2 separate regions of the Homo sapiens genome follow, and region 2 is linked to region 1. Evidence: promoter capture Hi-C in 16 types of primary human blood cells and fetal thymus (Javierre and others, 2016). All regions are on one chromosome and are shown on one strand. Each heading gives the region's core, a stretch centred on a gene start or on the middle of the fragment in contact. The rest is flanking DNA. Distances are from core to core; before and after follow the strand shown. Region 1 holds the start of DDX47 (DEAD-box helicase 47). Region 2 overlaps GPRC5A (G protein-coupled receptor class C group 5 member A).

Region 1 (6,699 bases), core at 2,526-5,025:
GCCTTAGACTGGGCTAGCATAATTGTATGCCTGTGACTGCCCAATAGAATCAATTTCAGGGTGACCTGTTGTCTTATGCAGTGTGTATTTTCTCTCCTTTCCTGTAACTTGGAGTGAACTAATGTAAAAAGACCAAAGTCCCCAGCCTATTCTGCAGCAGTGTAATCTTTTTTTACTACATATATATGTGTATATATATATATATATACATATATATATAAAATTAAAAAATATATATTTTAGACAGAGTCTCACTCTGTTGCCCAGGCTGGTGTGCAGTGGCACGACCTCGACTCACTGCAACCTCTGCCTCCCAGGTTCAAGCTATTCTCCTACCTCAGCCTCCAAAGTAGCTGGGATTACAGGTGTCCGCAATTATGCCTGGCTAATTTTTGTATTTTTAGTAGAGACAGGATTTCACCATGTTGGCTAGGCTGGTCTTGAACTCCTGACCTCAAATGATCCACCTGCCTTGGCATCCCAAAGTGCTGGGATTATAGGTGTGAGCCACTGTGCCCGGCCAGGAATGTAATCTTAAATATGGAAAAACCTCACTCCCTAAAAAACAAAGAGTGAAGTCCTCTCTGGTCTGCTATGGTTCCTGATCCCAATGCTTTGCTGTTTTACTTCAGCCAGGCAGCATTTCCAGAGCATCCACTTCTTGCCAGGGCCTGTGCTTAGAGCCAGGGGTATGAAGATCATCCCTTGTCTCTTAGATTGTTGGGGACCAGCCTCAACACCACCCGTAGGGTACCCAAAGTCCGGTGGCAACAAAGGAATGAGAAGAGACAGGTTAAGAGTGCATAAAGAGTGGGGGCCGGGGGGCCAATTGCAAAATGGAGGCTGCAAAAGGCCCAGAGTTCTGGTCTTCACTCTATTTATTGAGTACAATCCCTTAGATCTAAGAAGCAGATGTTTAGGGTGAAACAGTGAAAGGGAGGCAGTATGTCATAGGCGTAATCTATAGCAATGGCTGTTTAAATGAGTCTCCTTTGTTCTCAAACAGCATATCTTTAACTTATCGAAGAGTAGCTAGTGGGAGTGGGCTTAACTAGGAGCCTGAACGTCTGTCCACATTTCAATGCTTCAAAGGAGTGTCTTTCTCCTTGAACACAGTGTTTATAGATAAGAGAGCAGGTTGCGCTCAGAGCATGGGAACATAATGGCGATAAGAAGGCTTTCCTCCTCAGAGGCCTTTTGTGACTTGCCACAACTTATTGTCCCATATTTTTATGGCCCGTTTATGCAGGCACCCCACAAGCCCTTTTCCCAACATAGATCAGGGGTCCCCAGCCTCTGGGCCATGGACTGGTGCCAGTCCGTGGCCCGTTAGGAGCTGAGTTGCACAGCAGGAGGTGAGTAGCAGGTGAGCAAGCATTACTACCTGAGCTCCGCCTCCTGGTAAATCAGCTGCGGCATTAGATTCGCTTGGGAGCACAATCCCTATTGCAAGGGATCTAGGTTGCGTGGTTCTTATGAGAATCTAATGCCTGGTGATCTGTCACTGTCTCCCATTACCCCCACATGGAACCATCTAGTTGCAGGAGAACAAGCTCAGGGCTATCACTGATTCCACATTATGGCAAGTTGTACAATTATTTCATTATATATTACAATGTAATAATAATAGAAATAAACTGCACAATAAATGTAATGTGCTTGAATCATCCTGAAACCATCCCCGCCCCAATTCTGTGCAAAAAATGTCTTCCACGAAACCAGTCCTTAGTGCCAAAAAGGTTGGGGACCGCTGTCTTAGATGGTCTCCTTTTCTCACTCTTTCTACAGCCTATCTCCATATAGAGTTAGAGTAATATTTTAAATGTGTAGATCATGTCTCTTCCCTGCTCTAAACCCCCAGTGGCTTCCTTCTGCATTTAGGATAACATCCAAAACCCCAGACCTTTTACAACAGGGTCCTGCAGAGTCTGAGCTGAGCCCAATTCTCTGACCACATCCTACCCTTTTTGTTGTTGAGACACTGCTGTGATGCCTAAATCAGGGCCCTTTTTTAGTTGTGGTGGTGGGGAGGTCGGCAGGCACATTGAGTTGAGTTCCTCACAATTCTCAGGTCAAGCACACTGGCATCACAAGTCTCCTCTCTTGCTTTGTGTATTTATTATCCTTTTTTTTTTTTTTTTGAGACGGAGTCTTGCGCTGTCACTCAGGCTGGAGTGCAATGGCATGATCTCAGCTCACTGCAACCTCCGCCTCCGGGGTTCAAGCAATTCTCCTGCCCCAGCCCCCCGAGTAGCTGGGATTACAGGCACAGGCCACCATGCCTGGCTAATTTTTGTGTTTTTAGTAGAGACTGGATTTCACTATGTTGACCAGGCTGGTCTCGAACTCTTGACTTCAAGTGATCCATCTGCCTTGGCCTCCCAAAGTGCTAAGATACAGGTGTGAGCCACCGCGGCCGGCCTATTGTCTTATACACTTAATTCTTTTATTCCCAATTCCCAGTTTTATTCTAATTCTTCTCCCTCTGCAGGCAACCATTCTAAAATATTTCAAGTGTATCTTCTGTTGGATGTGTTTTAGCAGAATGTGATATCTGTGGGCCTATATTTTAATATACTTGATATATTTTATGCTTTTCTCACTAAGCACTAGGTTTTTCAGATCTAATCATATTGTTAAGGGCATGTTTGTAGACACCATGTTCACATTTTAACTATGCATTTTCCCAGTGACGGACACCAGATTGCCCCCAACTTCCCATCCTCAGGAATAAAACTGCAACGAGCACCCTGCGCAGTGTGAGACCCAAGTGACAGGCCACAGGAGGGCACTCGCTGGCCATGGGGCATGCAACATACAGCTCTGAATTTGCTGCTTTCCAGAATAGCCTTAGTAGCTTCACAGTCTTGGTACTTGGAATTCTCTCACTCTGGAATGATTATCTCCTGGGATCTTAAAGCGTTTTCTCCTGCTCAACAGTGAGGTCTTAACTCAAATATCACTGTCTCAGAGAGGCCTTCCCAATCTCACAGTTATCCCCACAACCCACCCTCCCCAGGTTACTCTGTAATTTTTATGTGAACAGGGTTTCACTCTGTTGCCCAGGCTGGAGTACAGTAGCACCATCTCCACTCACTGCAGCCTCAACTTCCGGGGTCAACTGATCCCTCAACCTCAGCCCCCTGAATAGCTGGGATTACAGGCGCATGCCACCATGCATGCCTGACTGATTTTTGCATTTTGCAGACACAGGGTTTCGCCACGTTGCCCAGGCTGGTCTCGAACTCCTGGGCTCAAGTGATCCGCCCGCCTCGTCCTCCCACAGTGCTGGGGTTACAGGCGTGAGCACACCCAGCTACTTTTCACAATTTGAAATGCTCTGTGATAGCTTATTTATGATCTGTCTTCTTTTTCTTCACGAGGGCAGGGGTCGCTGTCCTATTCACCAGCCATCTAGCATAGCCTTAGCAAATGGTAGGTTCTCAACATTATTGAATAAAGTAATGACATAATAAAAAAATAGTATTGTAATATCAATCCGTTCCAAACTCTATGGTTAGAAAAGCGGGGAACATAACTGGCGACACACGTAGGGAAGGCTCTTTAAAAGGGACCTAAAGGTCAACTGGAGTCCCTGGTGATCAGCCCCTTCTGCACTCGGATCTATTCCGCAAGCCTACGCGCCCATATTCACTGGGCCCCACCTGCCTAGCGGACGGGTGCAATCCCCGGCAAGCCCGCAGGGGGCGCGCAGAGCACGTCGTCCGGGGAGAACTAAAACTACATTTCCCAGCATCCCGCGCGCCGCAGACCCACTTCCGGAGACCTCACACAAGATGGCGGCACCCGAGGAACACGATTCTCCGACCGAAGCGTCCCAGCCGATTGTGGAAGAGGAGGAAACTAAAACATTTAAAGACCTGGTGAGAATGGATGACGCTGGCTTCTTTTATGTACTCTGGTGCTAGGCTCAGGGAGACCCCAGGTACCTTAGATCCCGCTCTGATAGTGTACAAAAGCATCTTGGGGCCTAGCTTGGGTTTTCCCCAGAATTTCAGAGGGCTGGGTTTCGGACGTGCTCTGAGTTTGGGTGGTGGGAGGGCTGCTGGGCCCTGAGACCCCCTATTTGCCCTATTCGCCACTTTAGTGTGGCAACGTTTGTATGTGCATCCAGGAGGTTGTACATATGGGGAATGGAATTGGTCTCTTTATAACTGGAGCTTTGGAGTCAGATGAACCAACCAGATTTGAATTTTGACACAGTCTCTTACTGAGGACAAGTTGTTACCTCTCTGTGTTTCTCTTTCCACATCTGTAAATTGGGGATAGTAATAAGTACTTACCTCGCAGAATTGTTGTGACGATTAAATGAGATGATACATGTAAAGCACCTGGCCTTGGCCTTGGTGAGCAGAAAGTGTTCGTTAAGTCTTGAGCTACTGTCTCATGGTATAGTTAAAGAGTAGGCTCTGAGATGCACAGTAAATACCTTTTAAATCAAATACAATGGTTGTACATGATGGGTCTGACAGTCAGTTAAGTAGGAGGGAGGTAGGGGTGTGCTGTTCTTGGCTAAGGTATATTTTTCTGAATTCCAAGGGTGTGACAGATGTGTTGTGTGAAGCTTGTGACCAGTTGGGATGGACAAAACCCACCAAGATCCAGATTGAAGCTATTCCTTTGGCCTTACAAGGTAGGTTGTATGACTTCGTACAGATTTAATATAAAGTTATCTCAATTAGATACCCCTTTTGAAAGCTGTTGCTTGCATACTTCAAGTGAAATAAGGATATGGTCACTAAAGGTACAAAGTTTGGGTAATGGTATTTGAAAATGTCATTCTCCAATTTTACTGAGCTTACTTTCTGTCTTAATAGCTGAAAGGGTTTGTTCTCTGCCACAGATGCTGACTTTAAGGAAGCCCTAGGTTAAAGTTAAAGTATATTAACGACAATCTTGGTAGACTTTATGCATCAGTGGGCGCACACTTAGGGAAGGATGCCTGGAACACATATGTGTGTCTTGAGGAGTTGAGAATTCTTGCTGTGAGCCATGTTTATCAGATTTGTAAAACAGTGGTTAAAGCAGATTGATGGCTACTGGAACTGAAACTAATGGGATGAACTTTTTTCTTTTTGAGATCTTTTTTTTAAGATGGAGTTTTTTTTGAGATAGAGTTTCGCTCTGTCGCCCAGGCTGGAGTGCAGTGGTGCGGTCTTGGCTCACTGCAACCTCTGCCTTCCAGGTTCAAGCAACTCTCCCGCCTCAGCCTCCCAAGTAATGGATTACAGGCGCATCACCATGTCCGGCTAATTTTGTATTTTTAGTAGAGATGGGGTTTCAGCATGTTGGCCAGGCTGGTCTCGAACTCCTGACCTCAAGTGATCTACCTGCCTTGGCCTCCCAAAGTGCTGGGATTACAGGTGTGAGCCACCACATCTGGCTGTAACAGGATGAACTTTAATAGGAGTAGAAGTAAAGTCCTGCTCTTAGATTCCTAAAGTACCAACTTTACAGGATTAGGGTGGGTGATAAAAGAGGCCCAGAGGTCTTAGTTAACTGAAATCTATTAAGATCCTCAGAGAGAGTGAATGTAATCATAGCAATTGTTATAAGAGGGGTAATGTGGCTAATTATTGTTAGTATTAATGTAGCTATTACTGTATTACTATATTATTAGTGATTAATGTAAGCTATAATTATTACTCATTAGTAATTAATGTAGTGATTATTATTGATAATAATTGAAAGATTTAATGATTTGAAGAGCTGTCATGTGGAAAAGGGGTTAGACTTACTCTACAAAATTCCATTTGCTCTTTCCATAAATAGTTACTATTTGTTGTAAATGTAAGGCACTGGAGGTTAACAGTCTGTCCTCTCCAAGAGTCTATAATCTATTAAAGAGATAATTATAAATTTATTACAAGTTGAACAGGGACCTAAGAAAGTTACATTCAGAGTGCACTGAGGGAGAAGAGATTACTTCTAATTAGGATGGATTAGAGAAGATTTATTTCATTTTATTTTTGGCTGGGGAGGTTGGGAAGACATGTGAGCTGAACCTTGAACACTGACTTTAGAAGGATTTAGACATTCAGATATGATGGGAGGGGAGGACTTTCTAGGCATAGGGAACAGCATGAAAAAAAGCCAACTGGAAAACATGGGCATGTATGGAGATTTGCAAGTACTTAGCAGAGTGGTGAAAAAGTTTAGTAAGGTGATTGGGGCCGGATTATGAAGGATTTGAGTGCTGGGTCAAGGAATTTGGTCTTCGTTTCATAGGCAGTGGGGCATTTTTGGAGATGAAGGATTTAGAGTTGTACTCTTGGAAGATTAATCTCATAGCTGTGAAAGATCATTAGAAACAAGAGACTGAGTCTGGGAAACCAATTAGTAGGTCTTTGTAATGATTTTTGCAATCAATAATGGGTAGGGTGGTGGTAGAATGAAAAAGAAAATGTTGGAAAAAGAATCATTATGATTTTACAACCAGTTAAGCAAGTGGAAGGCAAGGAAGGGGTGGGGAAAATCTAAGTTTCTAGGCTGTATGTTTAGGGCATATTATTGGTGTACCACTGATACAAAAAAGGAACGGGGGAAAAATGCAGGAAAGATGAGTTCAGTTGGAAGTAATTGATTTTGGATATCAATGAGATAGAGTTGACCTTGTGGGAGGGGAATGGGGAAATGTTGCTCAGGGTACGGTTTCAGTTAGCCAGGATGGATAAGTTC
Region 2 (6,699 bases), core at 1,459-3,958, 83 kb after region 1:
TTCTGTAAATAAAGTGATTTTTGTTTTGTTTTGTTTTGTTTTTGTTTTCGTTTTTTTGAGATGGAGTCTCGCTCTTGCCCAGGCTGGAGCGCAGTGACGTGATCTCGGCTCACTGAAACCTCTGCCTCCCGGTTTCAAGGTTTCAAGCCATTCTCCTGCCTCAGGCTCCCAAGTAGCTGGGATTACAGGCGCCCGCTACCACGCCTGGGTAATTTTTGTATTTTTAGTAGAGACAGGGTTTCACCATGTTGGCCAGACTGGTCTCAAACTCCTGACCTCAGGTGATCTGCCTGCCTCGGCCTCCCAAAGTGCTGGGATCATAGGCATGAGCCACAACCTGTAATCCACTATTTTACTAAAACACAGCAATGCTCATATGTTTATGTATCATCTATGCTGCTTTCATGCTACAAATGTGTGGCTTGCAGAGTCTTAAATTGCTTATAACCTGGCCCTTTATAGAAAATCTATGCTGATCACTGATATAGAGGATCTGAATTATATGATTAGTAATGGAGATCTAATAAGATATGAAGATAGAGAATATTTCTATTTAAGTATCCATAGAACATTTACACAATTTTACCATGTTCTTATTCATATTGTATATTTTATCTGCCAAGGACTGGTAAAGAAGTATGAAAGTCTCATGCAACTATAGTATTGCCTTTGGGTTCTCCTTGTATTTTCAGCAGTTATTTATTTATTTTGAGACAGGGTCTTGCTCTGTTGCCCTGGCTGGAGTGCAGTGGCACAATCTTGGCTGACTGTAACCTCCACCTCCCAAGCTCAAGTGATCCTCTTGCCTCAGACTCTTGAGTAGCTGGGTCTACAGGCACCCACCACTACACCTGGCTAATTTTTAAATTTTTTGTAGAGATGGGGTTTTGCCATGTAGCCTAGGCTTGACTCAAACTCCTGGGCTCAAGCAATCTTCCTGCCTTCACTTCCCAAAGTGCTGGGATTATAGGTGTAAGCCTCTGTACCCAGCCTTCAGTACTTTTTGTTTTACGTATTTTGGTGCTATATTAGTTGGTGCATAAAAGTCTAGGATGGTTTTTTTTTTTTTTTTTTTTTTTTGAGACAGAGTCTCGCTCTGTCACCCAGGCTGGGGTGCAGTGGTGCGATCACGGCTCACTGCAAGCTCTGCCTCCCGGGTTCACGCCATTCTCCTGCCTCAGCCTCTTGAGTAGCTGGGACTACAGGTGCCCGCCACCATGCCCGGCTAATTTTTTGTATTTTTAGCAGAGACAGGGTTTCACCGTGTTAGCCAGGATGGTCTTGATCTCCTGACCTCGTGATCTGCCCGCCTCAGCCTCCCAAAGTGCTGGGATTACAGGCGTGAGCCACCGTGCCCGGCCCAGGATGGTTTTATCTTCAGTGTAGAGCATCCCTAATTATTATAAAACAAGCCTTTTGGTCAATATAATATCTTTTTGCTTTGATTACAACTTTGTATGATATTAAAACCTTAACTTCTACTTAATTATTTTACCTTGAACAACTTACTTAACTTTGTGTCTGACACATAATACTTGTTAAATAAATATTATGTTAGTATTTCTTTTTATTTTCATTTCTTTCTGTTCTTTTGCTTTTAACTCTTGTGTATCTTTTTGTTTTAGGTTAGGTTCTTCTAGGTATGATATAGTTTAGTCTTTTTTTTTTTCAAAATAGTTACCATTTACATTTCTTGTAATAATAGTTACTTGTTATTGTCATCTAATTTTAGGCTATATGGTTTGGTTGTCTCCATCTCCTTCTGCATTAGACAGTATATATCATATCATATTTTTAGATCTACTAGCAACTGAGTAGATGGTAGTGCCATTCTCAGGGCTTTGAAAGATAGGCTTGTAAGGAGAGGTGATCAGTTTAGCTTTGAACTTGTTGGATCCAGTGAATATTACCCTTATGTATCAGAATAAGATATTTAAATGAAGGGATCTTTGAGAGCCTTAAGATAGTATACTAGTAGAGGGCCGGCGCGGTGGCTCACACCTGTAATCCCAGCACTTTGGGAGGCTGAGGCGGGCAGATCACGAGGTCAGGAGTTCAAGACCATCCTGACTAACACAGTGAAACTCTGTCTCTACTAAAAATACAAAAAAAAAAAAAAAAAAAAAATTAGCCGGGCGTGGTGGTGGGTGCCTGTAGTCCCAGCTACTCGGGAGGCTGAGGCAGGAGAATGGTGTGAACCCAGGAGGTGGAGCTTGCAGTGAGCCGAGATCACGCCACTGCACTCCAGCCTGGGCAACATAGTGAGACTCTGTCTCACAAAAAAAAAAAAAAAAAAAAAGGATAGTATACTAGTAGAGGACTTCACTTTATTTTCCTATTTTCTGGAAATTTCATTTCTTTGAATTCGGGCATAAGAGATTTAGAAGCTTCACTCAAATATTAAGCTTTATTTAAAAAGATGATTTCCAGTATTTCATTTTATATTCACATTAATCAAGTCTACATGTTTCGTTTAGAGTAACAGGAAGATGGTAATACGCCCAGGGAACTATCTGGAAGTGTAGAAATTGGGATGAACACCGTGGTTATACTTGTTTTGATCTGCCTGTGGTGCTATGATGACTTATTTTCTCTCATTATTGCATAGAAACTCAATTCAGTGATGTTATTCAGATGTTATTCATAAGTTATTGCCATGATTCATCACTTTTATGTCATCAGAGTTGGGATGGCTACCCAGAATAGGGGATCCTGGAGATTTCCCTGTAGACGCTTTGCATTTATAAATAATCCTTTATCAAGGGCAGAGGGATTTCTGTAGGACTTCTCCCTTAGAAGAACTCAGCCTGGGTAGAAATACGAGGATTAACATCAGCACATATTCATCTCCAAAAAATTTTCCTCCCCATTACTCACACTTGCCAATAAATAACTTGCTTTGGGTAAATATTCAGCACTCAGTCTTAGTCCAAAGCATTTGCTCAGCAATCACTGTGTAGAGTACAGAGTAAGGGGGATACCAACAAATAGAAGTTTGCTCTATTTTCTTAAGAAGCTTGTTGTCTGGCCAGGCACGGTGCCTCACGCCACCTTCCTATCTTCCTAGGAGATAGATGCCACAAAGAAGCTTGTTGTCTGATAGGCAGCTCAGCAGTGATATTAATTTGTAATATATAACAAAGATATGGAAAAACTTGAGTGCCAAGAAATATTTAATTGTAAAAACCATGAAGAGATCGACACATTTAGAGTGCAATAGGATTTCAAGTCCAGGTGTGATGGCTTACGCCTGTAATCCTAGCACTGTGAGAGGCTGAGGTAGGTGGATCACTTGAGCCCAGGAGTTCGAGACCAGCTTGGCCAACATAGCAAAACCCTGCGTCTACTAAAAATATAATAATTAGCTGGATGTGGTGGCGCATGCTTGTAATCCAAGCTACTTAGGAGGCTGAGGCACAAGAATCGCTTTAACCTGAGAGGCAGAGGCTGCAGTGAGCTGAGATCATGCCACTGTACTCCCAGGCTGGAGTACAGAGCAAGACCCTGTCTTAAAAAAAAAAAAAAAAAAAAGGCCATAGGATTAATAGTAATAATGATAATAATTTAAAAAACTCATGATAGAGGTTAAATCTTGGGCAAAGTTTTGCAGAAATATGGTAAGTGGATCATAAATAGGAGGGAGAGGATCTTTCTGGTTAGGAGAATAATTCATGTGTTGAGGCAAAGAGCATGAGAAGACCTTAAATGAACCCAAATTCCCTTCCAGATGGAAAATACAGAACTCTAGGAAGATTTGCTTGCCTTGCACGGAGGTGGAGACGGGAGTTAGGGAGGAAGGAGGAGATAGGTGGGAGGACTAATTGGAGAAAGGCCTTGAAGCTCAAACTGGGGCTGGATCTGCCGTGACAGACAAAAAGGAGCGAATACGCTTCTTTTTTTTTTTTTTTTTGAGACCATGTCTCACTCTGTTGCCTAGGCTGGAGTGTAGTGGCGTGATCTCAGCTCATTGCAGCCTCTGCCTCCTGGGTTCAAGCGGTTTTTGTGCCTCAGCCTTCTGAGTAGCTGGGACTACAGGCGTGAGCCACCATGCCTGGTTCATTTTTGTATTTGTAGTAGAGATGGAGTTTCACCATGCTGGCCAGGCTGGTCTCTTAACGCCTGACCTCAGGTGATCTACCCGCCTCGGCCTCCCAAAGTTCTGGGCTCACAGGTGTGAGCCACTGCGCCCGGCCGATAATTTCTTTTTAACCTCCTTTGCGGACTCCTACCTAGATGAGATGGTGCTCCACATGGTTCTGTCCTTGGCTTCCCATGTGATCTTGTCTCCTCTTGAGGCTTCAGATACCACTCTAGGTGATGACTGCCAGTCTGTGCTTACAGCCCAAACCTCTCCTGAGCACCAACCCATATGCCCACGGTGCAGAGACAGCACAACCCAGTGTCAAGGAGCCTGGCTTTTAAGAGTCATGTAATCTTGGGCAAGTTATGTAATTTCTCTGTGCCTCAGTTTCCTCAGCTGTTAAAGGAAGGCATAATAATAGGGTTGTTGTGAGGATTAAATAACACCATATATGGCCAGGAGCAGTGGCTTGTGCCTGTAATCCCAGTACTTTGGGAGGCCGAGGCGGGCAGATCACCTGAGCCTCAGGAGTTGAAGAGCTGCCTGGGCAACATAGCGAGACCCCACCTCTACAAAAAATACAAAAAGTAGCTAGATGTGGTGGTGCGCACCTGTCCCAGCTATTCAGGAGGCTGAGGTAGGAGGATCACCTGAGCCCAGGAAGTCGAAGCTGCCGTGAGCTGTGATTGTGCCATTGCATCACTCCAGCCTGGGCGACAGAGAGACTTTGTCTCAAAAGAAAAAAAAAAAGAAAAAAGAAAGGAAACCATATATGGCTCAGAGGAAACTCTCAAGAGGACTTGGGTCTTTTGACTTGTTATTCCTGGATAGCTCCACGTGCAGGTCGCATATTTATCAAAGAGCCAACAAAGCTACACTTAGCATCTCTCCTTTCAAGCCTGTATTTCTAGGCTCTGACAGTGGTGCCACTCAGTTGCCTAAGCCAGAAATCTGGGAGTTAACCTGGGCTTTTCCATTCCCAAAGCCCTGTCTCTTCTACCTTCATAAAAATCTCCTACCATTTCCTGTTCATCTTTCATGTTTCATCTCCCTGCTTTCTTCCCTAAAGCATTAAACATTAAAAATAATTATTTTAAAACCCCACTAGGTAGAATGGGTCACTGTTTTCCATGTGCCCTCAGCATTCCTAATGTATTCCATAACTTCTTAGTTGTATGTCAGTGTGATTATTATTCATTCCAAGGGCAGTGGCCACAATTTTATATTTATTTATTTAGTTTTTTGTTTTGAGACAGGGTCTCACTCTGTTGCCCAGGCTGGAGTGCAATGGCATGATCATAGTTCACTGCAGCCTCGAGTTCCTGGGCTCAAGCAATCCTCTTGCTTCACCCTCCGAGTAGGGGGATCACAGGTGTGATCCTGGCTAAATTAGCACCCGGCTAATTTTTAATTTCTTTTTGTACAGCGGGGGTCTCACTATGCTGCCCAGGTTGGTCTCAAACTCCTGGGCTCGAGTGGTCCTCCCATCTCTCGGCCTCTCAAAGTACTGGGATTACAGGCGTAAGCTACTGCCCCCGGCCAGGGTTGCTTGTTTTGGAGACTTCTCAGCAAGCCAATGCTTGAATATATGGTGGTTTAAATGGAGAGAGGTTGGGGTCAGGGAGAAAAGCTCTAGAGATGATGACAGTGATTTAGAGGTGAAAAGGAGGATTGAATTATGATTATGACTACTTATAAAGAGCTATTCTTTCTGACCATGTGACACTGGACATGTACCTTCCTCACTCTGTTAGGTTTCTCACCTATAAAATGGGCTGTAGGAATGTTAAATGAGGTAATGGATGTAAAAGCATGTAAATGAGAGAATATGTGTAAAAATACATAACTACTCAGCATAGTGCCTGACTCATAATAGGACTCAGGAGGTGACAGTAGCTGTCATTATTCTTACTCATAATTACATCATGACTGTTATTACTACTGACTGAATGTAGCAATTCGAGAATAGAGAAAAAATGAAAATGCTAGAAAGTCACACATTTTCAGGGCTGGGCTGGCGCGAAGACACATTTTGACAGAATGAGAGAAATCTCATAGGAAGGAAGACAAAGTCAGTTTGTCTTTGCAAGGTTCTGGGCCCCAGATGATTCATTCTCAGATGCTCTGGGAAGGACTGCGTAGAATAAGCATGGGCAAACTTCCAGGCCTAGTCACAAGCAACTCTACACACTTTCCCCATCTCTCTGGTTGCGAAGAGGAGTCTCAGGTTAGAAACCCAAAGCGGGAGACTCATCACATGTTCACGTTTTTCCCTGCACAGTGGTCAGTGCTGTGTGTCAGTCAAGGCCATGTCTAGGGTCAGCGCTGCTCCAGGAGCCTCTGGCTTTGTCCTTCAGGTGGGCAGTCCCTTGCTGTGTCTCTTCTTCAGACCCTTCAACCTTACCTCTAGCCCTGGCTTTTAGTTTGGGTAGGAGTTTGTGGCACATACTCTTTTAATGACAGGAGATGGGGCAAGAATGAGGATGAGGGGGAGAAAGAAAGACATCTGGAAGTTTTGTACATGAAGCTCCCCAGGTGGGTGAACGGTGGAGCTGAACATGAGTTCAGACCACGTAGTTCAGCAGCGTGTCCTGCATTTTATAGATGAGAGGAGGCTT

Evidence for each region. Contacts are between HindIII fragments. The CHiCAGO score rates a contact against its expected background, and 5 or more counts as called.
Region 2: a fragment that was not itself captured here is called in contact with the fragment with the promoter of DDX47 in region 1 in 1 of 17 cell types (endothelial precursors); the score reaches 6.6 in endothelial precursors.

Annotation. Positions count from the first base shown.
Region 1 is chr12:12,809,571-12,816,269 of GRCh38, forward strand. DDX47 (DEAD-box helicase 47) reads left to right here and starts at 3,776. Exons shown (of 12, transcript NM_016355.4): 1 at 3,776-3,884; 2 at 4,561-4,654. The coding sequence starts at 3,798. RefSeq lists an enhancer at 3,603-3,912. The HindIII fragment of the contact is 15,992 bases long and covers 1-4,583 here.
Region 2 is chr12:12,893,717-12,900,415 of GRCh38, forward strand. The region is part of intron 1 of GPRC5A (G protein-coupled receptor class C group 5 member A); the gene reads left to right. Among named protein-coding and RNA genes, the nearest start is that of GPRC5A, 5.5 kb to the left of the region's middle. The HindIII fragment of the contact is 611 bases long and covers 2,404-3,014 here.